Regions from separate parts of the Homo sapiens genome. Here regions 1, 2, 4 and 5 are each linked to region 3. The links are contacts of gene promoters, found by promoter capture Hi-C in human tissues and cell types (Jung and others, 2019). All regions are on one chromosome and are shown on one strand. Each heading gives the region's core, a stretch centred on a gene start or on the middle of the fragment in contact. The rest is flanking DNA. Distances are from core to core; before and after follow the strand shown.

The links. The method cuts DNA at HindIII sites, captures the fragments that hold promoters and counts their contacts. A contact is called where the count stands out against the background at its distance.
Region 1: a fragment that was not itself captured here is called in contact with the fragment with the promoter of STK35 in region 3 in 1 of the 25 tissues and cell types used here (lymphoblastoid cells).
Region 2: a contact is called between a fragment that was not itself captured here and the fragment with the promoter of STK35 in region 3, in 1 of the 25 tissues and cell types used here (spleen).
Region 4: a contact is called between a fragment that was not itself captured here and the fragment with the promoter of STK35 in region 3, in 1 of the 25 tissues and cell types used here (dorsolateral prefrontal cortex).
Region 5: a fragment that was not itself captured here is called in contact with the fragment with the promoter of STK35 in region 3 in 1 of the 25 tissues and cell types used here (aorta).

The regions. Positions count from the first base shown.
Region 1 is chr20:1,741,475-1,746,380 of GRCh38, reverse strand. LOC124904858 (a long non-coding RNA gene) reads left to right here and starts at 4,055. Exons shown (of 3, transcript XR_007067498.1): 1 at 4,055-4,615; 2 at 4,899-4,906. The HindIII fragment of the contact is 4,864 bases long and covers 149-4,906 here.
Region 2 is chr20:1,779,407-1,784,502 of GRCh38, reverse strand. It overlaps the pseudogene LOC100289473. Among named protein-coding and RNA genes, the nearest start is that of SIRPA, 110 kb to the left of the region's middle. The HindIII fragment of the contact is 3,631 bases long and covers 1,500-5,096 here.
Region 3 is chr20:2,099,333-2,104,569 of GRCh38, reverse strand. It overlaps STK35 (serine/threonine kinase 35), which reads right to left and starts at 2,743. Exons shown (of 4, transcript NM_080836.4): 1 at 2,395-2,743; 2 at 1,205-1,802. The coding sequence starts at 2,688. RefSeq lists silencers at 1,328-1,377, 1,398-1,927, 2,218-2,267, 2,278-2,567, 2,668-2,857 and an enhancer at 1,014-1,982. The HindIII fragment of the contact is 6,364 bases long and covers 1-5,237 here.
Region 4 is chr20:1,820,675-1,826,027 of GRCh38, reverse strand. No RefSeq gene overlaps it. Among named protein-coding and RNA genes, the nearest start is that of SIRPA, 72 kb to the left of the region's middle. The HindIII fragment of the contact is 6,431 bases long and covers 1-5,097 here.
Region 5 is chr20:2,490,983-2,495,917 of GRCh38, reverse strand. ZNF343 (zinc finger protein 343) reads left to right here. Exons shown (of 6, transcript NM_024325.6): 3 at 1,874-2,140; 4 at 2,341-2,399; 5 at 3,093-3,219. The coding sequence starts at 2,023. Among named protein-coding and RNA genes, the nearest start is that of ZNF343, 15 kb to the left of the region's middle. The HindIII fragment of the contact is 5,941 bases long and covers 35-4,935 here.

The DNA of each region.
Region 1 (4,906 bases), core at 1,331-3,830, 360 kb after region 3:
AGCCATTTATTTAGATGGAAACTTGGCCCCCTGACATGTGCTATGAAACAAATAGAAACCTAGAAATTTAGTGCCTATTCAAATATTAAGACAGACACTGGTGTGGTGACTTTTGACTATCGCCTCATTGGGACGTTTTTTCTTTCTGATCAACTTAATGAAAGTATAATTTACTATAATTAAGTGTAGCCATTTTTACTGTAGAGTTCAATGATCTTTGATGACCGTGTACAACCATGTAACCACCACCCCCAATCAAAGTAAAGAACATTTTCTTACCAGAATAAATTTCCTCTCCCTTTGCAGTCATTCTCCCCAGCCCTAGGTCACCACTGATCCACCTTCTGTTACTGGAAGGTTAGTTTTCTTCCCTGATTTAGAATTTCATATGAATTAAATCAGATAGTATATACTCTTGTGTTTAGTTTCTTTACCTTAACATGTTTAGAGATACTTGCTGTTGCATATGTCTGTAGCTTTTTATTTTTATTGCTGAATAGGATTTCATTGTAATATACCACAATTGGTTTATGTATTTGCTGATGAATATTTGTGTTATTTCCAGTGTGGGATTATTATGAATAAAGTTGCTACAAAAAAAAAACAAAAGTACAGAGAAGCAGGGAAAGGAAAGATCTTTGGAAGGAGTCGTTAAGGGCTATAGCAAGTTTCCTCCCATCCTCAGGGTCAGGAGTGAGGGGGAAGCACCTGAAACCAAGCAAGAGAACTTTCAGACAACACTTCAGAGATCTTGACACTTATGCCAAGGGCTTGGGAGAGCAGAAGGGCTTGTACTAGAAGTGGTAGCTCCAATGGCCTAAGGCAGCAGAGCAAAAAGAGGCAGGGCTGCACCCAGGGCAGCTGCACTTCCTCCAGTGGTGGGACAATTAATCTGTAGAAGTCCCATCTCATTACACATGACTTTCCTATAAATATTGAGAGTCTCCATCAGCCAACACAGTTTTCTATGAAGTCTGGCCATATCGCAGTCACTTCAAGGAGTCTGATCCATGTCGTTACAGATATCCCAGTGAAGGGCTAAATAAAGCTTAGTTCATGATTTTTGCAAGTGAGAATGGAATAAAAGCTAATCAGATTCAAGGTTTGGTTATCCTTTGAACTCAACATTATGTTCTTGACAACTGATAAAAGCAAAAGAATTTAGACATACATCTTGCCCAAGCAGAACTAGTTTGGAAGGCTTTCAGGGAAAAGGCTGTTTAGAAGCATGAGACCAGAATGGGGAGCACTTGTGTGTACATTTCTACTCAAGTTTTTCCATTTTCCTTCTCTAACATCTTCTTTTGTCATAATCATTGTTTCTCTTTTTTTTTAATTTATTTTTATTTTTTATTTTTTTATTATACTTTAAGTTTTAGGGTACATGTGCACATTGTGCAGGTTAGTTACATATGTATACATGTGCCATGCTGGTGCGCTGCACCCACTAACTCGTCATCTAGCATTAGGTATATCTCCCAATGCTATCCCTCCCCCCTCCCCCGACCCCACCACAGTCCCCAGAGTGTGATATTCCCCTTCCTGTGTCCATGTGATCTCACTGTTCAATTCCCACCTATGAGTGAGAATATGCGGTGTTTGGTTTTTTGTTCTTGCGATAGTTTACTGAGAATGATGGTTTCCAATTTCATCCATGTCCCTACAAAGGACATGAACTCATCATTTTTTATGGCTGCATAGTATTCCATGGTGTATATGTGCCACATTTTCTTAATCCAGTCTATCATTGTTGGACATTTGGGTTGGTTCCAAGTCTTTGCTATTGTGAATAATGCCGCAATAAACATACGTGTGCATGTGTCTTTATAGCAGCATGATTTATAGTCCTTTGGGTATATACCCAGTAATGGGATGGCTGGGTCAAATGGTATTTCTAGTTCTAGATCCCTGAGGAATCGCCACACTGACTTCCACAAGGGTTGAACTAGTTTACAGTCCCACCAACAGTGTAAAAGTGTTCCTATTTCTCCACATCCTCTCCAGCACCTGTTGTTTCCTGACTTTTTAATGATTGCCATTCTAACTGGTGTGAGATGATATCTCATAGTGGTTTTGATTTGCATTTCTCTGATGGCCAGTGATGATGAGCATTTTTTCATGTATTTTTTGGCTGCATAAATGTCTTCTTTTGAGAAGTGTCTGTTCATGTCCTTCGCCCACTTTTTGATGGGGTTGTTTGTTTTTTTCTTGTAAATTTGTTTGAGTTCATTGTAGATTCTGGATATTAGCCCTTTGTCAGATGAGTAGGTTGCGAAAATTTTCCCCCATGTTGTAGGTTGCCTGTTCACTCTGATGGTAGTTTCTTTTGCTGTGCTGAAGCTCTTTAGTTTAATTAGATCCCATTTGTCAATTTTGGCTTTTGTTGCCATTGCTTTTGGTGTTTTGGACATGAAGTCCTTGCCCACGCCTATGTCCTGAATGGTAATGTCTAGGTTTTCTTCTAGGGTTTTTATGGTTTTAGGTCTAACGTTTAAATCTTTAATCCATCTTGAATTGATTTTTGTATAAGGTGCAAGGAAGGGATCCAGTTTCAGCTTTCTACATATGGCTAGCCAGTTTTCACAGCACCATTTATTAAATAGGGAATCCTTTCCCCATTGCTTGTTTTTCTCAGGTTTGTCAAAGATCGGATAGTTGTAGGTATGTGGCGTTATTTCTGAGGGCTCTGTTGTGTTCCATTGATCTATATCTCTGTTTTGGTACCAGTACCATGCTGTTTTGGTTACTGTAGCCTTGTAGTATAGTTTGAAGTCAGGTAGTGTGATGCCTCCAGCTTTGTTCTTTTGGCTTAGGATTGACTTGGCGATGCGGGCTCTTTTTTGGTTCCATATGAACTTTAAAGTAGTTTTTTCCAATTCTGTGAAGAAAGTCATTGGTAGCTTGATGGGGATGGCATTGAATCTGTAAATTACCTTGGGCAATATGGCCATTTTCACGATATTGATTCTTCCTACCCATGAGCATGGAATGTTCTTCCATTTGTTTGTATCCTCTTTTATTTCCTTGAGCAGTGGTTTGTAGTCCTCCTTGAAGAGGTCCTTCACATCCCTTGTAAGTTGGATTCCTAGGTATTTTATTCTCTTTGAAGCAATTGTGAATGGGAGTTCACTCATGATTTGGCTCTCTGTTTGTCTGTTGTTGGTGTATAAGAATGCTTGTGATTTTTGTACATTGATTTTGTATCCTGAGACTTTGCTGAAGTTGCTTATCAGCTTAAGGAGATTTTGGGCTGAGACAACGGGGTTTTCTAGATAAACAATCATGTCGTCTGCAAACAGGGACAATTTGACTTCCTCTTTTCCTAATTGAATACCCTTTATTTCCTTCTCCTGCCTGATTGCCCTGGCCAGAACTTCCAACACTATGTTGAATAGGAGCGGTGAGAGAGGGCATCCCTGTCTTGTGCCAGTTTTCAAAGGGAATGCTTCCAGTTTTTGCCCATTCAGTATGATATTGGCTGTGGGTTTGTCATAGATAGCTCTTATTATTTTGAAATACGTCCCATCAATACCTAATTTATTGAGAGTTTTTAGCATGAAGGGTTGTTGAATTTTGTCAAAGGCTTTTTCTGCATCTATTGAGATAATCATGTGGTTTTTGTCTTTGGCTCTGTTTATATGCTGGATTACATTTATTGATTTGCGTATATTGAACCAGCCTTGCATCCCAGGGATGAAGCCCACTTGATCATGGTGGATAAGCTTTTTGATGTGCTGCTGGATTTGGTTTGCCAGTATTTTATTGAGGATTTTTGCATCAATGTTCATCAAGGATATTGGTCTAAAATTCTCTTTTTTGGTTGTGTCTCTGCCCGGCTTTGGTATCAGAATGATGCTGGCCTCATAAAATGAGTTAGGGAGGATTCCCTCTTTTTCTATTGATTGGAATAGTTTTAGAAGGAATGGTACCAGTTCCTCCTTGTACCTCTGGTAGAATTCGGCTGTGAATCCATCTGGTCCTGGACTCTTTTTGGTTGGTAAACTATTGATTATTGCCACAATTTCAGCTCCTGTTATTGGTCTATTCAGAGATTCAACTTCTTCCTGGTTTAGTCTTGGGAGAGTGTATGTGTCGAGGAATCATTGTTTCTCTTTATAGGCACAGACTCAGAGATTAGTCATTACCTTGGACCTAAACTTTTTTTTTCAAATGTATACATTTATAGGTTGCTACCATTTTTTCAGTGGCCTGAGGAAAACTACTATTTTGAAGTAAAGTAATACCATAGAGTATTTTATGGACCTTCATTGTCTTTTACTGGCTTGATGAAGCCAGTCACGGCCCCCACCCGCTCTCTTTTTTTTTTTCCTTAAGCAGATGAAAGGAAAGGGCAACCTTATTTTTTCTAAAAATCTATCTTCTTCTGACATGTTGGAGGGCTTATGTATTTTGTTTTATTCTCGTTCAAAGCCTTTAGCTTAAGCTATGTCAAGGCTGTCTATAGCAGTTGACTTCTGCTTTCTGCTGGGTCTTCAATTCCTGTTCCTCCTGCCACAAAAGAGCGGTTGCTGATGCTACTTTAGAAAGTGAAGTCATTTGCCTTTTCGGGTAGAATGAAGAAAGCCCGGAGGAGGCTGCAGAATCTTTTCACATGGTGAATATAGCAGGAAGAAAGGAAGGGAGGGAGGGAGGGAAAAAGAAGAAAGGAGGGAAGGAAGGAAGGAAGGAGAAAGAAGGAAAGAAAGAAAGGAAGAGAGAAAGAAAGAAAGAAAAAGAAAGAAGAAAAGACAGAAAGAAAAAGAGAAAGAGGGAGGGAGGGAAAGAAAGAGAAAGAAAAGGAAGGAAGGGAAAAAGAAAGAAGGAAAGAGAGAAGGGAAGGAAAGAGAAAGACAGAGAAAGAAAGAGGAAAGAAAGAAATAGAACTTTCTGTCTTACAGAACTAGAT
Region 2 (5,096 bases), core at 2,066-4,565, 320 kb after region 3:
ATACCTTCCTCTTAGTCTGTTTATCCATGGATCCACCCATCCATCCACCCATCCATCCATCCACCCACCCATCCATCCATCCAACAAACATTCATCCGGCACTTATTTACACTAGTGACCAAGGACATGGTCCCTGTCCTCCAGAGCCTACAGTCTAATAAGGGAAAGAGTTATTATGCAACTAGTTTCAAGTTAACAGTTTAATTATAACTGTGATAAATGCTCTGCAAGAGAAGTATTTGAACCCACAGGGAGACATTAGGGTAGAAAAGACTTCCCTGATGAAGAATGTTTCACCCAAGACCTCACTGTCGACTATGGTAGCCAGTAGCCACACGTGACTATTGAGTGTCTGAAATGTGGCTAGTGTCACCAAGGAACTGAGGGTAGATGAATAATTTTACCAAACTTTATAAAGTAACTATTCTGTGTCAGGCCCTGCCCAGTCCAAACTAGTCTGGTTGAAAATGCCAACATTACATCTAGTTCAGCGTCCACTTCCTTCTCTCACCCCAGCCCACTGCTGCCTCCAAGTCCCTGCTGAGGGATCTGGAAGGGATGGAGGTGAAGCATTCTTTTGTCCCTCCTCCTTTCCCTGAATTGGGTCTGTCTATCATCTGGTGTGTTAGGGCCTGGGAAGGGAGATGGAAAAAGAGGGACTTCTTTTACCCAGCAATGCTCTGTTCACTATGGCTGGACTCTGGAAGCCAGCTGCCTCCTAGGGCACAGGTGTGGATTCCTAGGAGGATCCTGAATGTGTGCATGTGTGCATGCATGTGCACGTGTGTGTGCCCATGTGTGTATGCTGTGGGGGTACACAGTCTGCTGCACAGTCTCTTTTATGCATGATCTGATCCAGGTTCACAGCTCCCCGCTGGAGTCCATGCTGCAGTCTCTTACTCCTAGGCCCTCTTGCCAGTGGTCATCTCTCTTGAGTGGGATGCTCTAAGGTCGGCTCCCCCCTTTCAATGAGGGTCTCTCCATGGACCTCACCCCCTTGCCACTCTGCATGGAGGAAGCTTGAGCTGCTGCCCTGCCACCCCGTCACTCTACCCTGCTGTCTCTTTTCAGTTCCTTTTTCTCCTGCTCAGGGCAACATCAAGGTGGATCAGCAAATCCACTGTTGCTTCAGGAGACACCTGGAAAAAGAAAAGCCAGCCTCCTCCTCCTGCAGGCACGTAATATCTAGGAGTCATTTTGGGGTGCCTTGCTTGGCTGAGTAGTGGTGGGGGGTTGTGAGGTCAGGGGAGTTTCCATAACAGCCTCACCCAGGCTAGAAAACTCCTCTCTAGCCTCTCCCTCCACTTTAGCTGAGCGTACAGACCCCAAAGAGATGGGATGGCTGGGGAGCAGGCTGGGCTTGGCTGCTTTGTAATCAGTCTTGAGAACATACCTGGCCCCAAAGGTTCATTTGTTATTAGCGAGTATCTATTCTGTGCCCAGCACTGTGTGGCTGCTGGTTACAGCCATGAACAAAAAGCAGTAGTCTTCAGGGCAAATCATTTGTTTTTCATGAGGGAAATGGATAAAAACGAGTAATATACATCAGGGCTAACCATTGGAAAGCCCAGTAACGTAGGGTAAGGAAATGGAGAGAGACCAAAGGGAGAGGTTGTTTTCATAGGGAGGTCAGGGAAACTGGTGGCTGTGTTTCAAACTCATGTTTCCCCAACGTGGAGCCTAGTAGACAGTTCTGGGCCATGGGAAATCCGTGCCACCATTGTCCAAGCCCAGTTAAGCTGTGAGGCAAGGGTTGGGTTTCAAAGTCTAGGGTCTTTCTTGGTTGCACGTGGTTGTGTATGTCAAGGCTCACTTCTCAACCCTCTGGGCCCATATCTGATCCATTCTGCATTCCCAGAAGCCGTGTCTGGGCCTGGGACAGGGCAGGCTCTTGATGCTGCTTGTTCAGCATGGAGGAGCCTCCAGGACAAGGGACATCAAGGCTCAGCCTATCAGAGGCCAGCTCTGTGGCTTGAAGCTTGAGGCAGAGCTCAGCCGCTTTCTGGTTTTGCTCATGGGGAATCAGGGACAGTCGGAACCCATTAAAAGGCTCCAGATGCCTCCCTGGTTAGACACCTCAGGCCTGAAGGTTTGCAGCTTGGAAGGAGGCCGTGGCCACAGTGACCACTTCCCTCACTGTGGCTCAGGCCTCTGTTCCAGGCATGGCAGAGAATGGGGTGGGGTAGGCAGCTGGGAAGTATAAGGCCTGCTCCAGGCTGTCAGAGGCTGGTCAGTGGCTCCTGGGCTCTTTCAGGGCCTTATCCAGTGGTTGCCACCAGGAACAGACCAGGAGCACTGTGAGTCTCTCACCATGGCTACCACACCTGGGCGGGCCCTGGGCTCCCTCCTGCCCACCCTTCTGCTGGGACTCACAGGTGAGTCCTGATTCCTGCCCAGAGAGACCCTCAGGGCAGGCAAGGAGACCCCCAGGAATGACCAAATCCAGCCACTGTGTCTTTCTGAAGGAAGACTGAGGCTCAGAGGAGGTGACTGAGCTGTTTTCCTGCCAGTCAGGTGCTGTTTTGCATCTTTTCTTCAATGTAGACCTTGCGGACAAAGGGAGCTGGTGGGAGCTTGGGGGTCAGAAGAGGAAGTGACCTAAGGGTGAGGGGCTCGGGGGAGGTCAGGGGGTAAAAGAGGAGCCCACCTCCCAGTTTTCCCGATGTCAGCTCTAGTCTGGGTGGCTACCTGTTCTGGGTCAGAGAGGGTGTAAGGGTGGAAAAGACAGAGCGAGAGAAAGAAAGAGAGAGAGAGAAAAAAAAGAGAGAGAGAGAAGTCGCCAGAGTGATGGAGCCTCCGGCATTGGAGGCATGGAAGAGTCCTGGACCCAAAGTCAGACAGGCCTTCTTACCCTCCCTCTTTAGTCACTGATAGGCTGTGTGACCTTGAGCAAGTCACGAGACCTTTCTGAATCTCTGTTTCCTTTTCTGGAAAGTGAGGACAATAATACCAGCCTCCCACAGCTGAGATGTGGAAGAAAAGAAGCACACATGGCTGAAAATGTTTTCTGAACCACACGGTGCTGTGTGCAGGGTGGGTGATGAGGGCAGAGCACAGTCCAGAAGGTACCAGAGCTGTGTGCTAAGAGGACAAGTTCCTATGGCCTCCTGCGCTGCCCTCTGCCTGTCATCCTGCTTGTCATTGGTTGTTTATTTGCCTTTCACCCCCATCTGACCAGATGCTTCTCAAGGGTGGGGGTCCTGTCTGACTCATCTCTGTGGTCTCAGCACCCAGCTCTTGACCTGGTGCAGAGCAGGGGCTTAGGGAATGCTGTGAAGACTTGGGGAGTTTCTTGCTCCAGAGCTCTGCAAGGCTGTCCTTAGAAGGAGGGGTGAGTCTCATCCTGCAGTTTTCCTGGGAAAATTCTGGGAGACAGATCCCAGGTTATATCCCAGAAGCAGGAAATATTTTGTCATAGTCCTAGCTGGGTGTGAGGGTGAATGGAGCTGCTTCTCATGGAGACAGCTCCCTGTCACTGCAGGTAAGCAAGCAGACAACGGGGGTCTAGTGAAGTGTTGATGGGAGGCACCCGAGTAGGGGGGCCAACCATCCCTGTTGGGGTGATTCTTGACTTTACACTCAAGTCCTTATAAACTTACATCCACAATGGAAATCCTGATTCATCACCATTCCCTTCCTATCCCAACTTGGTCCTTCTCCAGATCTTCCCAGCTCAAAAAGTAGAGCTACCACCCACACAGCTGCTCTAGAGAAAACCTGGGAATTGTTGATCCAGAATTCATTCTGTCCCTCACCCCCCATCCCGCCCATCACTGAGTCCTGTGGGCTGTATCTTCCAAATGTGTCTCGAGCCTCCTTTTCTCACCACCCTAGTCCAGGCTACCATCACCTTGGCCTGGAGGTCTGTACCAGCTTCCCCACTGGTCTCCCTGCTTCCATTCCTGCCACGCTCCTTCCCATTCTCCACACAACAACCCCAGTTATCCTCTAAAAAATGTACATCAGACCACTTTGCCCCTCTGTTAAAGTCTCTGCTGGTTTCCCATCACTCTCAGAATAGAATCAAGATCATCACCATGGTCCCCAGGCTCTTCTCACTCTGGACCTCTTTGCCATGACACTAGGGTCCCCTACAGACTTCTCAGTTTCTCAAGCCCACCAAGCCCTTCCTGCCTGAGGTCCTTCTCTCCTGCTGTCCCCGCTGTCTGGAATGTCCTTCCTCTGTCCCTTCCCATTGCTGGCTCCTATTCATTCCTGAGTTTCAGCTCAATGATGTCACCTCCTCAAGTAATTCTTCCCCAGCTGCCCTTCTAGAATAAGTCCTCCCTGTATTCTCCATCTATGCAGTCTTTGGGTTTCCTTGATGGCACTGGGATCAGTCATAATCACATTTGCATTTGCTTGTTTTCTTATGATCAAATGCCGATATGCTGCCTGAAGACAGAATCAGACACAGCATATAGTAGGCCCCCAGGGCCTGACACAGCTCTGGTGCCACTGGTGCCTGTGGGGTGTGTCCCACTCTCAGTGTACAATCACAATTGCTCTTTCCTTAGCTGGACAGCCCTTCATCTCTCTGACTGGTCCATCTCACAGGACAAGCCCTGGAGACTCAGTGCCTTTCAACTGTACTGCTGTCCCCTTCAACTCCCAGGACTTCTCCCGGGACTTCAATGTTACGTGGTTGAAGGACAGTGATGAACATCCAGCCTCAGCTCAGCGCCTGGTGCCTGACAATGGAGGCAATGACTTCATCACCAGCAAGGCATGGGTGACACTGACCCGACAGGATGTCTCATCTGAGATCACCTGCGAAGTCACCCACAGGGCCCTGGCAGAGCCCCTGAAAACAACCATGAATCTCTCCCAAGTGCTCTGAGGTGAATGGGCAGTCAGGTGGGGTGGACATTAACCCTGGAAGCATCCAGCTTTCAGGGTTTTTGCCCAAAGCCTCATTTCATAAATGGGGAAATGAAATTCCTCATGGATTTCTGATCATGTGTATTGTGGTTATAAGCGCAGGTTCCAGGGGCTCGCTGTCTGGGTTTTAATCCTAGCTGTGCCACTTTACAACTTGTGGGATCTTGTGAGTTACTTGACTATTTAATACCAGTTTCTTTATATAACAGGAAAAA
Region 3 (5,237 bases), core at 1,494-3,993:
ACAGCATTACGCCTTCGAAAGGATCCAGGCCTCGAATCAAGACAGATCTGGGATCCCCGTCACTTAAGCTCTGAGAAATGTAAGGAAACCAGGAGTACAGTCTAACTTCCCTTTCAAGCGGATTAACCCTGATCAAGTTATTTGTTCACTTCTAAGCCTTAGTTTATTTATAGAAAAAGGATAGAATTTACTTTTGAAGTTATTACCTAAAAATTACTTCAGCACTGAGACCACAGCTGGGACTCGGATTAGTAAACTTTCTTCCCCTGGATCCTCCTGCCTCGGAAAGTCTCCTCAAACTTTCTACCGCCTCTCTCCTCTCCAAGCAGACACTTAGCTACTGGTAGTATGAAAAAGGCTTGTGAGTACTGAGTAGTTAGGATGAATACATTCCCTAACTGCAGTTAAAACCCGGAAACTAAGATAATTAGTTCCTCCAGGACTGCAAGACCTCTTGCCTCAATGTACCCCATTTTCCTTTTAAGTAAAACCACTTCCCAGCCAGCCTCTGAGGTTAAGAAAAAGATTAAGAATGTAAAACGGAGGGAAAAGATGCCGGATGCTTTGTTATGTGACAGCTCTCAGGCCACCTGTGAGGGTTGTCAGCCTGCACCCCTCAGAGGACCAAGCCAGAAGACAGTCAGTTTGCTCGGCTGCCTGGGATGAAGGGCCGGGGGCCTCAGAGGAAAAGGCAGACGAGGAAGCCACAGGAGTTTGGGGGTTGGAGCTGGAGGGTGTCAGGAAACTTGGAACCAGACAGGGAGAGGGTGTGGGTGGGTCCAGTCAAGTTTTTTCTTTTTGTTTGTTTTGGGAGGGAAAGAGAGAGGCCCTCGGGGGTGAGGAGGCTCCGCAGTTCTGCTACTAACTGAACCCGACCCCTCCTCCACTCCCCCAACCGATCTTAAAAATAGAAGACGTTTAATAACCATAGCTCGCAATTCTTGAGCACTTATTAAGTTAATGGTTAGCACTTAAACGAGCTCTTGTTATGGAAACACCAGCCAACTTTAGGCCCAGGGACTGATCTTAGGACCTGAGAAGAGAGGGCCGAATGCCTGGGCCCAGGAAAGGAGGGTGTGTCAGGGCACAGGGTGACAGGGACCAGGTCTGAGGCCTAGGAAGGCCAGGAACAGTGTGGGCCAAGCCGTCCGGAGAGCAGGGGGTCCAGGCCCTGCGTGGGTGGAAAGGCCCGCGGTGCTCCTACCTTTCAGCGAGGTCTCCACCAGGCGCAGGTAAAGCTGCGAGCTCTTGTTGCCGTGACTCATGCGCTGGGCTAACCCATTGCGCTGCAGGACGCACTCCTCAAACTGCACGACGTTCTGGTGGCGCCGCTTGAGGCTGGTGAGGGCCCAGAATTCAGCCAGCGCCAGCTCCACGTTCTCGGGGGCGTCGCAGCGGATCTTCTTGACCGCCACCCGGGCCCCGCTGCGCCCGGCCACTGCCTCATAAACCACGCCGTAGCTGCCGCGCCCGATCTCCGCCAACAGGCTGTAACGCGGCCGCGCGGACCCGCCACCGCCCTCAGGCCGTCGCCGCGCCAGGAAGGCCTCGCCCGGGGCCTCGGCCGCCACCGGATCCATGGCCCGGGCCGCCGCCGCCGGCCTCAGCTTCGTGCTGGGCGCCCGCGGCACTGGGCTTCGCCTTTTCCGCTCCGGGCTTTGTGTACCTCTGCGGGCGCCGTCCTTCCCCGTTTCCATGGCTGCGGGCGGCGGGGGGAGCAGCAACGGCGCTGCCCGGGCCCCCCCTGCCTCATCCCTCCGTCCGGCCCTGGGACGCGGAGGAGCCGGACCTTGGATTGTGACCTGCGGGCGAAAGAATCGGTTAAACGGCCAGGCCAAGGCGGGGAGGCCAGGAGCGTAGGCCGCGGGGCGTCCCACCTCCTCCTCCCCCGGCCGCCGCGGCCCCTTTAAGACGGAAGCCACCGCCGCTGATTGAACGGGGGAGGGGAGGGGAAAGCGGGAAAGACCGAACCACTGGGCAGCAGCTCAGAGGGGGAACCGGAAAGAAAAGCACAAACTCTCCGCTCTCTCTGTTAGCTTGTCATGTAGCGATAGGAAAAAGAAGAGCCAGCAAGCTTCACGCCTTCTGAAAACCGCTTAGAGACGCGATTTGGCCGGCGGAAATATTTTTCTTTGCTTGGCCCCCTCTGTGACGCTCCTCCCCGCGCCCCGCCTTGTGTTCGCCCGGGTGTAAACAGTCCATTGAATTAAGCCCTAGCGGAGCCCAGCGGACCGACCCAAGTCCCCGAGGGCGACGGGTAGAAGGGATTGGCTGAAAAGTTCGGCTTCTCGGAGTGCGACTGGCCGAGGACCCGATTTCCCTTCCCAAGCGCGGAGGCAGTGGCAGTAACTCCAGCCTCGGCGCTGGCCTTCAGTCCTCCAACGGCGCCCTTACCTGGCCCGCGCACCTCCACTTCCGGGCGGCCCGTTTCCCCCCTGGAGCCCCTGCCTGGGGATGGTCCGCTCCGGGCCCGGGCTGCCTCCGGGACCGAGCAGCGCGGGAGGTGGCGGCCCGAGCCCGGCGTGTAGCGGATCCTTCTGCTGCCGCGGCGCTCGCTGGGGAAGCCTGGGCTCCTAGGCTCCCGTGGCTTTCCACGTGTTCGCGCCAGCTGAGCCCTTTACATAACCTCTTTACATAAGCTGCACCTCCCGCCGGCGCCCGGGCCAGCGGAGACTCCTGGTGGCCCATCCCCCGGGACGCCAGCCGAGTGAGCCCTGCACCGCCCGGTCCTGCAAAGGTCGACGGAGCAGCCGCAGCCGAGCGCACCGGCACGCCTTGCCGGGACCCAATCACTGGCGAGAACACCCAGCCAACAAAAAATAGGCGCGAAATTCCCGTGATCCGCGGCGGGCTCCGGGTCTCCGCAGCGGCCCGCGCATCACTATCCCTTCTCGCCTGATCTGCGTGAAGACCAACCGTCCGCAGTAGGCGCCTAATAAATACTGACTGGGTGATTGTCTTGGTCGTTTGATTCATAGCTCTGTCCTGGGAACCTCAGGGACTGGGTTGGAATCCCGACCTTCCCTTCTACCAGCCCAGTGATCTTGTGCAAATCATTGACCCACCCTGAGCATCCGTTTATCTAATGATCCTCTGCAAAATGGATAGAATGGGCTTTAATTCCCAGGAATGATAGACCCAAATGAAATACCTAGATGGAGGCTAATTGGGTGTGGGGCTGTTAGTACCCAAAGCTCCCATTTAGGCACAGATTTTTGAATATTTTGTTCTGTATTTTGTATTCCAGTGTAGGCCTAGTGGGTGCCCAGTGTTTGTTAACTGAATCTACAGATGTTTATTGAACACCCGTAATGTGCTAGGCACCATTCCAAGTCGCTGGGGAAAGAGCAATAGACAAGGCAGTTTCTGCCTTGGTTGAGGTTCTGTGCCACTGCAGGAGACAAACCACATGGGTGGCCTTGGGCAAGTTAGTCAACCTTCTTGTGTATTTGTTCCTTACCTGTAAGAAGATCCACAGAGGTTATACAGGTAAAGCACTTAGGACAGCCTTGCACACAATGTTAAGTATTATTAAATAAATGCACAGGATAATTTTTGCCAGTGGTAAGTGTGATGGAGAAAAAGAATGAGCTAAAGAGTGCTCACTGGATACAGGCCATTTCTTATAATGTATTTGGTCGCTGAAAACCTCTTAACTTTTTTGTGATTAAATTTCAAATTTACACATAAATTTCAAGAATCGTAAAGATCATATACTTTTCCACTAGAATAACAAATTGTTATATTTTGCTGCATATCCATATCCTCTCGTGTATGTGTATATATACACACAAATACATATTGTGTGTGGATATCTATATGGTATATACCCCAAAAGAAAGGAAATCAGTATACGGTATATAGATATTCACACACACACATATATAATGTATATATTCTTTTTTACTACATCATTTTAGAGTTTCCAACATCAAACTCCTTTATCCTAAATATATGTGTGTGTTTCCTTAAAAAAAAGACATTATCTGGCATAATCTCAGTACAGTGGTCAAAAATCAGGAATTTTAACAATGATACAATTGTTTTATTTAATACACTCCATCCATATTTAAATTTTGCTAATGGTCCCAATAATGTCCTTTATAGCTATTCCCCAGGATCCAATTCAGGATCAGACGTTGCACTGAGTTGTCATGCCTCTTTAGTTTCTTTTAATCTGGAAGGGCAGTTAGTTATCCAGCCTTTCTTTGTCTTTCATGACCTTGACATTTTTGAAGAATACTGGCGAGTTATATTGTAGAATGTCCCTAAATTTTTATTCATCTGTGTTTTCTTATTAGTTTCAGAGTATCCATTTTTCTCTCCTCCCCCACCCCCCACCAACCCATCCCTTGCTATTCTGAGAGGGTATGCATTTTTTGGCAGGACTACTGCTGAAAAAAGTTGCCTCCTCAGGGCCTTTCATCAGGAGGCACATGGCATTGTGTTTGTCCCAGTATTCGTGGTGTTAACTTCCATCATTTGGTTGAGGTGGTGTAGGAGTAGTTACACTCTACCATAAAGTTACGATTTTTCCTTCTGTAACTATTAAGTATTCTGTGGGAAGATATTTTGAGACTATTTAAATATCCTCTTCTTTAGACTCTTACCCACTGGTTTCAGAATTCATGGTGATTCTTGCTTGAAACAATTATTACAGTTGCAAAATGGTGATCAGAAGGTCTTTTTAACCATAACCTTTTTTCTATTTCTGTGAAGAATGTCATTGGTATTTTGATAGGGATTGCATTGACTCTTTAGATTGCTTTGGGTAGTATGGACATTTTAACCAATGTTGATTCTTCCTATCCATGAACATGAAATATCTTTCCATTTTTTGTGTGTCCTCTTCAATTTCTTTAATCAGTGTTTTATAGTTTTCATTATAGAGATCTTTCATTTCTTTAAATTAATTCCTAGGTATTTTTATTTATGGCTATTGTAAATGGGATTACTTTTTAAATTTCTTTTTCAGATTGTTCACTGTTAACATATAGAAATGCTACTGATTTTTGTATGTTGATTTTGTATCCTGCAACTGTACGGAATTTGTTTATCAGTTCTAACAGTTTTTTGGTGGAGTCTTTAGGTTTTTCCAAATATAAGATATAATATGCAAACAAGGATAATTTAACTTTTTCCTTTCCTATTTGGATGCCCTTTATTTCTTTCTCTTGCCTGATTGCTCTAGCTAGTACTTCTAGTACTTCTAGTACTGTGTTGAATAACAGTGGTGA
Region 4 (5,353 bases), core at 633-3,132, 280 kb after region 3:
CCAGCAGGCTCAAAGTGAGCCCAGAATGGGTGGCCTCTTCCTCCTTCTCCCTTACCCCAACCCAGAGCCCACAAAAGCATGTGGCTTGGAGGAGACAGGTAGCTACCAGAGGTCAAGGAGTCCCTGCCCTGTGCCTTGGGAAGGACCTGCCCTCCCTCTACAAAGCTAGACAGCTGGACCTACCTGACCTGGGTCCTGGGGGCCGCTGGAACTAGGAAGGGCTCTGGCGTCATGAATCACAAACTGGCATGACATCACCTTGTCCAGTGGACATTCCAGAGGCTTAAAATCTCAGAATTCTTAATATTAGAGTAATAACTTAGTTATTTTAGAGTGTCGTATTAGAATTGCATTCAAATAATACAGAAATGTCATATTGCGTTAGCAGCCTAGATTGGAATGTTGTGGTACAATGTCTTATAATATTGCATTAGGACATGATGTAATGTTATGTGTTAGAATGGTATGTTGCTCCAGAGTGTAGGATTAGAATATTGGTTAGAATTGTGCTGAAATGTTGAATTAGAATATTAATCTGTGTTAGAACATTATATTTGAATGCAATGTTATAATAGTATATTAGTGTTACATTAAAATATTATATTGTGTTGAAATGTTTTCTTAGCAAGTTTTCTTAGAATGGCATGTTGAATCTTAAAATCAAAAGGGAGCGCATGAAATTGTGGGGTTCTTTGATGGCATGCAAAACACCACCTGACCTAGGAATGGTGGAGTAGCGGTGGCAGGGCCTGGATTTGGGCTCAGCTCTGACACTGACTCCTTTCCCTGCTCTTCCTCTCTCTGGACCTCAGTTTCCCCATTTTTACATCAGGAGCTGTTGGGCAGTGTTGGCCTCTAGGGCCTCTCTCATGCTGACTGTTTATGGGGCTCTGAATGCTGGACATTCGCGCTACGCCAACTCCCGGGCAGGAAGTGAAAATTCTGCTTAACAATGAGATTGATCTTATCAGGGAATGAATGACTTTCTGGGAGTAAACAGCTTCCTCACTGACAGGAAAAGTAAGAGGATCAAGTGACCAGGGTGAGAGAAACTCCAGACCAAGCAGGCAGGAGTATAGACCTCCAGCCAGCTGCTCACTCTTCCCTAAAGGCACAATGACTCCATCCTGCAAACTGGGGGTGAACCAGAGTCTCCTTCTTCCTTCTAGAAACATTTCCCCATCCATCCCACCCAGTCTTCTCCAGACCCCATGGCTGACCACAGTTTTAGGCTGCTATCCCTGACTGATGGGCCGAATTGCTGAGTTCTGAGCCCCTCATCTTTGCCCCTAGACGTTGGCTGGACTCTCGACCATCTCTGTTTTCCCCCTCCCCTATGTGGATCAGGGCATTTCAGAAGTAGGCCTAGAACAGATGGTTTCAGCAAAAATATCCCGGGCCTTCCCACCTGAACTCTCCCTGCCCCTCACTCTCTAGAAGAAAAAACAAGTGATGGCAAGGCAACCTGGAAAAATCCACACATTTACACAAGCTCTGATCCTTCTGTACATCTTCATGTTTTGCATGCACCACCACCCACAGACCCTGTGGTCCCTGATCCAAGACAAGGAGGGGGTTAAGAGCAAGGCCCAGCAGACCAGCTAATGACCATCAGTGCTCTTGTGCAACCCACTTCCCCTTCTGAAACTGTGTCCTCCATTGCAAAATGAAGTAAGGGTTTTGACCTTATTAAGCATGATGGGCATGAATTTGAGGTAACACCTGCAAACCATTCAGCTCAGCACTTATCAAGTGGCAAATGCACTGAGCTTGTTGAGGTTGAAATTGTCTAGAACTGGGCACACCCTACACCCACCCTAATGCCTTCAGCTTGAGGTCTGGGCCCCAGCCTTCCTGCATGCTACAGCTTGGAGGGTAACATTCATATCTCGCGGTCATCCTGAGATGAAAGGGAAAATCCACAGGAGAAAGACAGCCAGGGGTCTTGGTGATTGGAAGAAGGCTTTCTTAAGAAGCTTGTAGTGAGCATGATGTTTTTTGCTTAAATAAATCTCTTGATACTTTTGAGGGCAGACAAGGCCTTGGAACCTGGAGTAAAGAGGCTGGGCAGAGTTCTAGGCCCACATGGCGTCACTGGCTGACCTCTTTCTATCTCAGGGTTTCAGTTATCTAATCTGGAAAATGGGGCTTTAAAAGGCACTTCTTTCACAGGTCATTGTGGGGGTCAAATGAGATGGTCTAACTCAGAAATCTAGGAAAGGCCGTGAGAGGCCTGGTGTGGTATAGGGATGGAGAACAAAAAATAACACGAAGAAAAGGAGAAATGAAAGGGGAAATGGAGGGGAAGGGATAACTTAGAGAGATTGCATGCTATGGGCAGTCCCTGAGGCAGTCGCCAAGGCAACTTAGAGAAACAGCAGGTGGTAGGCAGTCAGCAGCTCTGCCACTAGCTTGTTGTGTGACTTCCAGCTGGTTCCCTGCCCTCTCTGAGCCTCAGGGTCCTCATGGGTAACACTGGCCATTCAGACTGGACAACTCCAATGGTGAACTCACCCGCCTCCCTTGGTCCCCTGGATTCCCTGATATGCAGCCGTAAGCCCTGAAGTGCTTGGCTGGGGAGACTAGAGTTGATCACAATTCCTAAACACCTTCACTCCTATTTTCATGGTTGGACCATGGATGGCAAGGAAAGGATCTCAGATTTCTGGAGGTGACAGCTGGGACAGCTGAAGATGGTCAGGTTCAAGCTCCTGCCTGAAGCTTGCCAGACGCTATCTGTCCACTTTTGCTGTGGTCACCTAGTGGGGATAGTGGAAATTGAGCAAATGTGTGTTAGTCATAAATGCCTGGTATGAGAACAAAGCAGTAAGCAAGCCAGATCCAGTTCTTGCTCTCATGGAATAACGTCTGGGGAGCAGGGTGAATAATACATTAGAACTCTGCTATTTGGTGCATATATGTATGTAATTGTTATATCTGCTTGATGAATTGACACTTTTATCAGTATATAATGTTTTTTGTCTCTTGTAAACATATTTGACTATTATGTATAGCATTCGTATAGCCATCTCAGATCTCGTTTGGTTACTATTTGTATGAAATATATTTTTTCATGTTTTCACATTCAATCTATTTGTATCTAAAATGAGTCTTTTGTAGACAGCATATAGTTGGATATTTAAAAAAATTCATCCTGTCAATTTATGCCTTTTGATTGGTGAGTTTAATCCATTTACATTTAAACTAATTACTGGTAATTAGGAACTTTTGCAATTTTGTTATTTGTTTTCTCTCAAATGTGCTGTTGAACTCTTCTAGTGAATTTTTCATTTCAGTTATTGTATTTTTCAGTTCCATAATTTATATTTGGTTCCCTTTTATAATTTCTATCTCTTTGTTGATATTATAATTTGGTTCATATATCATTCTTCTGATTTCCTTTAGTTATTTTTCTGTGGTTTTCTTTAGCTCTTTGAGCATTTTTAAGACAGTTGTTTCAAAGTCTTTATCTAGTAAGTCCAATGTCTGGGCTTCCTTAGGGATAGTTCCTGTCAATTTATTTTATTCCTTTGAATGAGCCATGTTTTCTACTTCTTTGTTGTGTTTTTGTTGTTGTTGTTGTTGAAAACTGGACATTTGAAAAAACAGCTGCCTCTCCCAGGCTTTGCAAACTGACTCTGTGTTACACAATCCTTCACCAAGGTGAAAGCTTCAGGTCTTCTCAGGTCTTTTCTGAGAATGAATCTTGCCTGCTCCTAAATGTGGCTTACTCAATTCCTCCATATGTACAGCTGCTTTTGAATGTCTTACTTTTTCAAAGAATCTTACCCCAGCACCCAGCTTCTCCTTAGGGCCACAGATGGTCTATTGTGTGTGTCCACTCATAATCTCTTGCCCCAGTCATCTATGGGTCTATAGTCTCCCTGCAGCTTCCACCAACAGTGCCCTCAGCTTCCCTCTACCTGAGATTTTAGTTAGACAAAACAGAGAGCTGTCCTCCAGGCAGGCCTCAGACCAGTTAGAGTGTTGCCAGTAAGGTAGGCTTGCTCCCTCTGGCTCAAGGGAGGGAAATGGGCTGCTGTGCCAGGGAGGGGGTTGGGCAAAAGGGAGTAAAAATGCCACAAAACTTTTTCTGCTGTTTGAAGGTGGCTTTTTCTTGATTAGGTATTCACCTGGGTGCTGTAAACCTTTGACTGTTTTCCAGAGCTCCTATATTAGTTCTAAACCAGTCTCTGGTTGTTTTCTTGGTGCTTCCATGGGGTGAATGACAGCTTGGAGCTTCCTAGTCTGCAATTTTGCAGCTGCCACTCCTCCAACCGACGGTACATTAGAAGCATTCAAATATCTAACTGCACATTACAGGGAAATGAACACATCGCTGGTGTGAATGTCTGCAGGGAGGAAGGTACCAGGGATAATTGGGATCAGAAAAGGCCTTGGGGAAGGTATGATTTTTGAACTGAAAGAGAGGAAGGAAAAAGCCAGGAAAGCAATTCAGGAAAGCATAATAGCAAAGGCCTTGAGGTGAAGAAGAACCTGGTTTGTTCTAGGCCCTGTTGGAAGGATGGTGTGGCCAGAGCCCAGGGAGGCCTGGGGATCAGAGCACACAGGGCCTGGGGGCTGGGATGAGCAGCTCGAGCTGTATTCTGTGGGGAGAACCCATGGAGGGCTTTAAGAACTAAAGAGACCTTGTGATTTTTGCTTAAAACGACAAGGCTGCATTGCAGGTAAGGTCTAGAGTGGGAGCAGTGAAGAGGCTGGTGTAGATGCCCCGGTGAGAGATGAAGCTACAGTCTGGGAATTAAGGGTCAGTTCTTGGCAGGGGTCAGAGGAAGCAGAGTTTAGTGGGAACAGCTGGAAGCATCCCTGCAGACTTTCAGAGGTGGACCAGGGAACATTCTTGGCCAAGTCAAACCAAGAATGGTGTTGGGACAAGAGGCAGGAGGGATATTTTTGCCCCTGTGGCTTCCTTTGAAGTTCTAAGCTCTACCTCTCCCAGATGAGCCTTTCCCCAGGGAAAGGAAGACAAACTGTGTCTCCAGGGTTTACAGAACCAGCCTCTGAAAGGTTTTTCAAACAGGAACTGGACCATTGAGAAGATGGGGAAGCTGGGCCCAAGGAAGGGCTGTGGCCATGGCCTCACAGCACATGGTCCTCCTTTATGGGAGGTGAGTCAGGGACTGCATCACCCAGTTCCTGCTAATACTCAAGTGTCAGCATTTTCAGTGCGTTTGAGGTTAAACTCAAGGATTCCAGAGTTGGGCTGGCCTGGCCAGAGTCCTGAGCTTTCTGGCTCACAGAGTGATGCTGTGCTGGCCACTCCCCCTCTCTGAGCCTCAGTTTCCTCATCAGTACCACTGGGGCGATGATAGTCCTCACCACACTGGTTATT
Region 5 (4,935 bases), core at 1,756-4,255, 390 kb before region 3:
ACAAAGTCAGGAGTTCGAGACCAGCCTGGCCAACATGGTGAAACCCCATCTCTACTAAAAATTCAAACAATTAGCTGGATGTGGTGGCAGGTGCCTGTAATCCCAGGTACTTGGGAGGCTGAGGCAAAAGAATCACTTGAACCTGGGAGGCAGAGGTTGCGGTGAGCCAAGATTGCACCACTGCACTCCAGCCTGGGCAACAGGGTGAGACTCTGTCTCAAAAAAAAAAAAAAGAAAAAAGAAAAAAAAAAGTCTGCACTTAGTACAGATCTTGCTTTATAACTGTTAGCTACAGATACTAGTGTTACTAGGAGAAAGGCTTTGTCAGCTTCAGCTACGTTATACTGCAGGTACTATAGGTTGGCTTTAGCTTTGTACCATGACTTTTTACAGTAGAACCACAGTCCCTCTTCGGACATGCTGTTCTCAGAACAAAAGAAATGGTGGAATTATGCAATGCTTAGAAATGGCATCGTCGCTTTCACTCACATTCATTTTCCAAGGCAAGTTACAAGGTCAAGCCTGATGTCTGGGACAGGGAAGTACCATCCTTTTATAGGGCAACAAATAATTGGGAACGATGATAAAATCTACCACAAAGGCCTCTTTTATTCTAATCACTAGAATTATATTAGCAAAAAGACTGAGAAGCATTTCATCTTACAAGAAGCTTCACAGTTTAGTAAAGACAGTCACGTAAATAGAGAAATTGCAATATGGTATGATGGCCAGGTTGGACAGAAGAGGGAGTGGTCATCTCTACCTATGGTGTTGAGGGATGAATTACAAGAGCTGCTTAGAGACCCCAGCTAGTCTCAGAAGGGTACTAGGCAACAATAGGCCTGTAGCCATTTGGGCTGAAATCCTGGACAGCGTCTGAGGAGCTTTTGAAGGTGGCATAGCTCCTAATACCACCTGCCTTCTTTGGGACCACATCAGTGTAGGACTTTGACTTGGGCCCATCAGGATACACAAATGCACATCTGTGGTAAGGTCATGTGGTAGACATGCATAGCAATGGAAGCTAGGAGGTTATCTCTTCAGAGTAATTGTGAGAACTGGAGCTCTCCCTTAACTAAGAAGGACTGAGTTTTGATCTCCTAAACTCCTCACAATACAGGGACATAGGGATTTTTTTTTTTTTTCTTGAGACAGGGTCTTACTCCTGCCGTCCAGGCTAGAGTGCAATGGCATGATCTCAGCTCACTGCAGCCTCGACTTCCCGAGGTCAGGTGATCCTCCCACCTCAGCCTGCTGAGTAGCTGGGACTACAGGCGCACACCACCATGCCCAGCTGATTTTTGTATTTTTTGTAGAGACGGCATTTCGCTATGTTGCCCAGACTGGTCTTGAGCTCCTGAGCTTAAGTGATTAGCTTGCCGTGGCCTCCCAAAGTACTGAGATTACAGGTGTGAACCACTGTGCCCATCCAAGACACAAGGAACTGAATATAGATGGAACCTTGGGTTGGGGCAGGGGAATCAGAAGCTGAGTTCTGCACGCCCCAGTTGGTCTACAGGAAACAGTCAGAGGCTCTTTCTCCACAGGCATTATGCTATATTCTGTCTTCTCTCTGACTCAGGCTTCAGGTAGTAGCAGAGACTGATCCAAAACATAGAGTTTGAATCTGAGGTGCAGAGGCAGAAGAAGTAAAGTTTGAGAGCTAAGGGAGAGTGGCAGAACACAAGCAGGAGGGCCTAGAAATGAAGGTAGAGTGAATGAAGGTAGAAAATCCAGGGATCCCATGTAGATGGAGACTCCGTGTTTGTTGAATGAGGAGGGTGTGAGAGGACAGGATCCCTGTTGAAGAGGCATAGGCCTAGGGCCCACAATAAAAGCCCCAGCAATAGCAAATTGCTTCTTCATCCCACAGGTCCTGGCTGCAGGGAAACAAGCTGGGCTTTTTATAATTAAGGTTGGAAGAAGTCACCACAGGCAGCAGAACTCCATCTTGAGATGAAATAACATCTACCTGGACCTCTGGCAGAATTTCAAGGCACACACTGGGCTGACTCTGGCGCCATGATGTTGCCTTATCCTTCAGCACTGGGAGATCAATACTGGGAAGAGATTTTGCTTCCAAAGAATGGGGAAAATGTAGAGACTATGAAGAAATTGACCCAAAATCATAAAGCGAAAGGTGAGAATTGTTGAGGGAGCCGGAGGGATGAAGAGGAAGCCAAGGCTCCAGGTTCACCTGAAAATGCTTCAGAGGTCACCTCTGAGTTAAGTGACTACTTCCTTCATCCTAAGGCTCAGAAGAGCTGCTCAGGGAGCGTCATGGTGGGGGGTGGGGGGTGGGGGGGTCTGGTTTCTCATAGCTTCTTTTTCTTTCCCTAGGCTTGCCTTCTAATGATACTGACTGCCCCCAGAAAAAGGAGGGAAAGGCCCAAATAGTGGTGAGTTGGGGTTACATTTTTTTTTTTTCCTGAAGTGCTGGCTCATTTTCCAGAGAATAGACATATATTCTCTTTCTTGGGAAAGGAAAAGGCGGTCAACATCTGGGTAGATGAGTGAAGCATTAGGCTTTCTTGAAAAAAGTTGTCAAAGCACATAGCAAAGACAGGGATTTTACAGATCCCATTTAGTAACCTGAGCTTTTAAAAAATGCTCATTCCAGACCCCATCTGTTCACTCCCATTTTTCTCTGTAATCCAAGTTTTCTTCCATTCTCTCCTCTAAATCTTTACCACTCCCTACTGCCCAGCACAAGCCCCAAGTCCATGATGCTTTTGTTCCTTCTGCAGCCCATTCTCTGCTGTTTCATCTCTGAATTCCTTCATTATGAATCCTCAAAGTCACTGTCTTAAACACAGCCTGAGGTTTACAAATTAATTCACAAATCATTTCTCCGGTGAAATCATATATGTCAAGGGCCTAGAATGTGTTCTGTGCTCAGTTATGCTCCTCACAGGTTTTAACAGAAAGCCAGGCAGACAGTAGTGCTCAGAAGAACTTCATATGGAGAACCATATATTCTGACGAATTACATCAACTTGCATATCCAGGCTCTCCAGGGTCACCAGCTGTGCTCCACACACAGGGAAGATTGATGGTGGCTTGCTATACATTAATTTACTGGTTGTTTGTAGGTACCAGTTACATTCAGGGATGTGACTGTGATCTTCACAGAAGCAGAATGGAAGAGACTGAGTCCAGAGCAGAGGAATCTATACAAAGAAGTGATGCTGGAGAATTACAGGAATCTTCTCTCATTGGGTAAGGCTGTGTTCTTTCCTTTCCTTCATTAATTCAGTAGAGATTTACTGATCACCTAATATGTACCACAAAAAAATGTTCTAGATACTTACAACACATTAGTAAACAAAATCGTAATCCCTGCCTCCATGGGGCTTACTTTCTAGTGTAAGGAGACAGACAACAAACAAAAAGCCTCATATACAGGGATATTATAATATGGTATGTTAAAAGGTGATAAGTGCAACATAGTAAAAAATAATGAAATAAGGCAGGATAAAGGGGTATTGGGTGTGATAGGGTGGCTGGCTGAAGTTTAAAACTGGGTATTTGAAATCAGTGAAGAAGTAATATTTGTCTAAAGACATAATGTGGTGAGGAGGTTAGAACTGTAGGTATCTAGTGTAAGAGCATTTCAGGTGAAGGGAATTATTGACACGAAGACCTTAATGAAGGGATGTACCTGCCCAGTATATGAAGCTGCAAGGAGGCAAGCAAGGCTGGGGGCATGGTTTGCAAGGGGGAGAGATGCAGCTCTGTGACATAAGTTAAAATTAAGAGTCAAGTTTATTGTGGTTTGGGGGTTTCATAAACTATGTTTTTTTCTTTTTCATTTGTTTACAAACCTAAACGAGGTCAGGAGATCGAGACCATCCTGGCCAACATAGTGAAATCCCATCTCTACTAAAAATACAAAAATTAGCTGAGCATGGTGGCATGTGCCTGTAATCTCAGCTACTTGGGAGCCTGAGGCAGGAGAATCACTTGAACCAGGGAGTCAGAGGTTGCAGTGAGCCGAGATTGTGCCGTTGCACTCCAGCCTGGTGACAGAGTGAAACTCAGTCTGAAAAAATAAAAAAAAATAAAAAAATATTTAAATCTGGGTTGATAAATGTTATCAATTGCAACATAACTCTAGATCAGGGGTTGGCCAACTTTTTCTGTAAAGGGCCAAACAATAACTGTTTTTACAGGTGATAAGCCCTCTGTAACAACCCTTAACTTGCCATTGAGTTGCAGCCATAAACAGTATGTGAACGGATGAGCATTGATATGTTCCAATAAAACTTTCTTTATAGACACTGAAATTTGAATTTAATATAATGTTTATGTATCATGAAATATTACTACTCTTTTTACTTTTTTCTAGCCATTTAAAAATGTAAAAACCATTCTTAGCTTGTAGGTGATACAAAAACAGAGGACTGGATTTAGCTTGTGGGTAGTCATTTTCCACTCCTTGTTCTAGATCAGTGCTGTCTAGTAGAAATATAATGTGAGCCACATAGGTAAGTTTAAATTTCCTAGTAACCACATTTTTACAAGTATAACTACAGGTGAAATCAACTTTAAGACTATATATATTATTTAATCCAATATATTAAAATATCATTTTAACATGAAATTAACATAAAACTTATTAATTAGGTATTTTACTTATTTTTTTGTACTGTCTTTGAAACCTGGTTGTATTTTACACTTAGAGCACATCTTAGTTCAGATTAGCCATGTTTCAAGTGCTCAATGAGCACATGGCCAGTGGCTGCTATACTGGATAGTACTGTTCTAGATATTCCTATGTTTCTAGATAAAACATGTAGAGAAGAATCACATTTTTGGAGACACAAACCAGTTTCAGGGAGGAGTTTCTTTGGGAGTTTGCTCCAAATGGCGTGGCTGTTTCCCTGATATGATTTAATCAGATTTACTTTATTCCATTTTCATCTTCTTTGATGT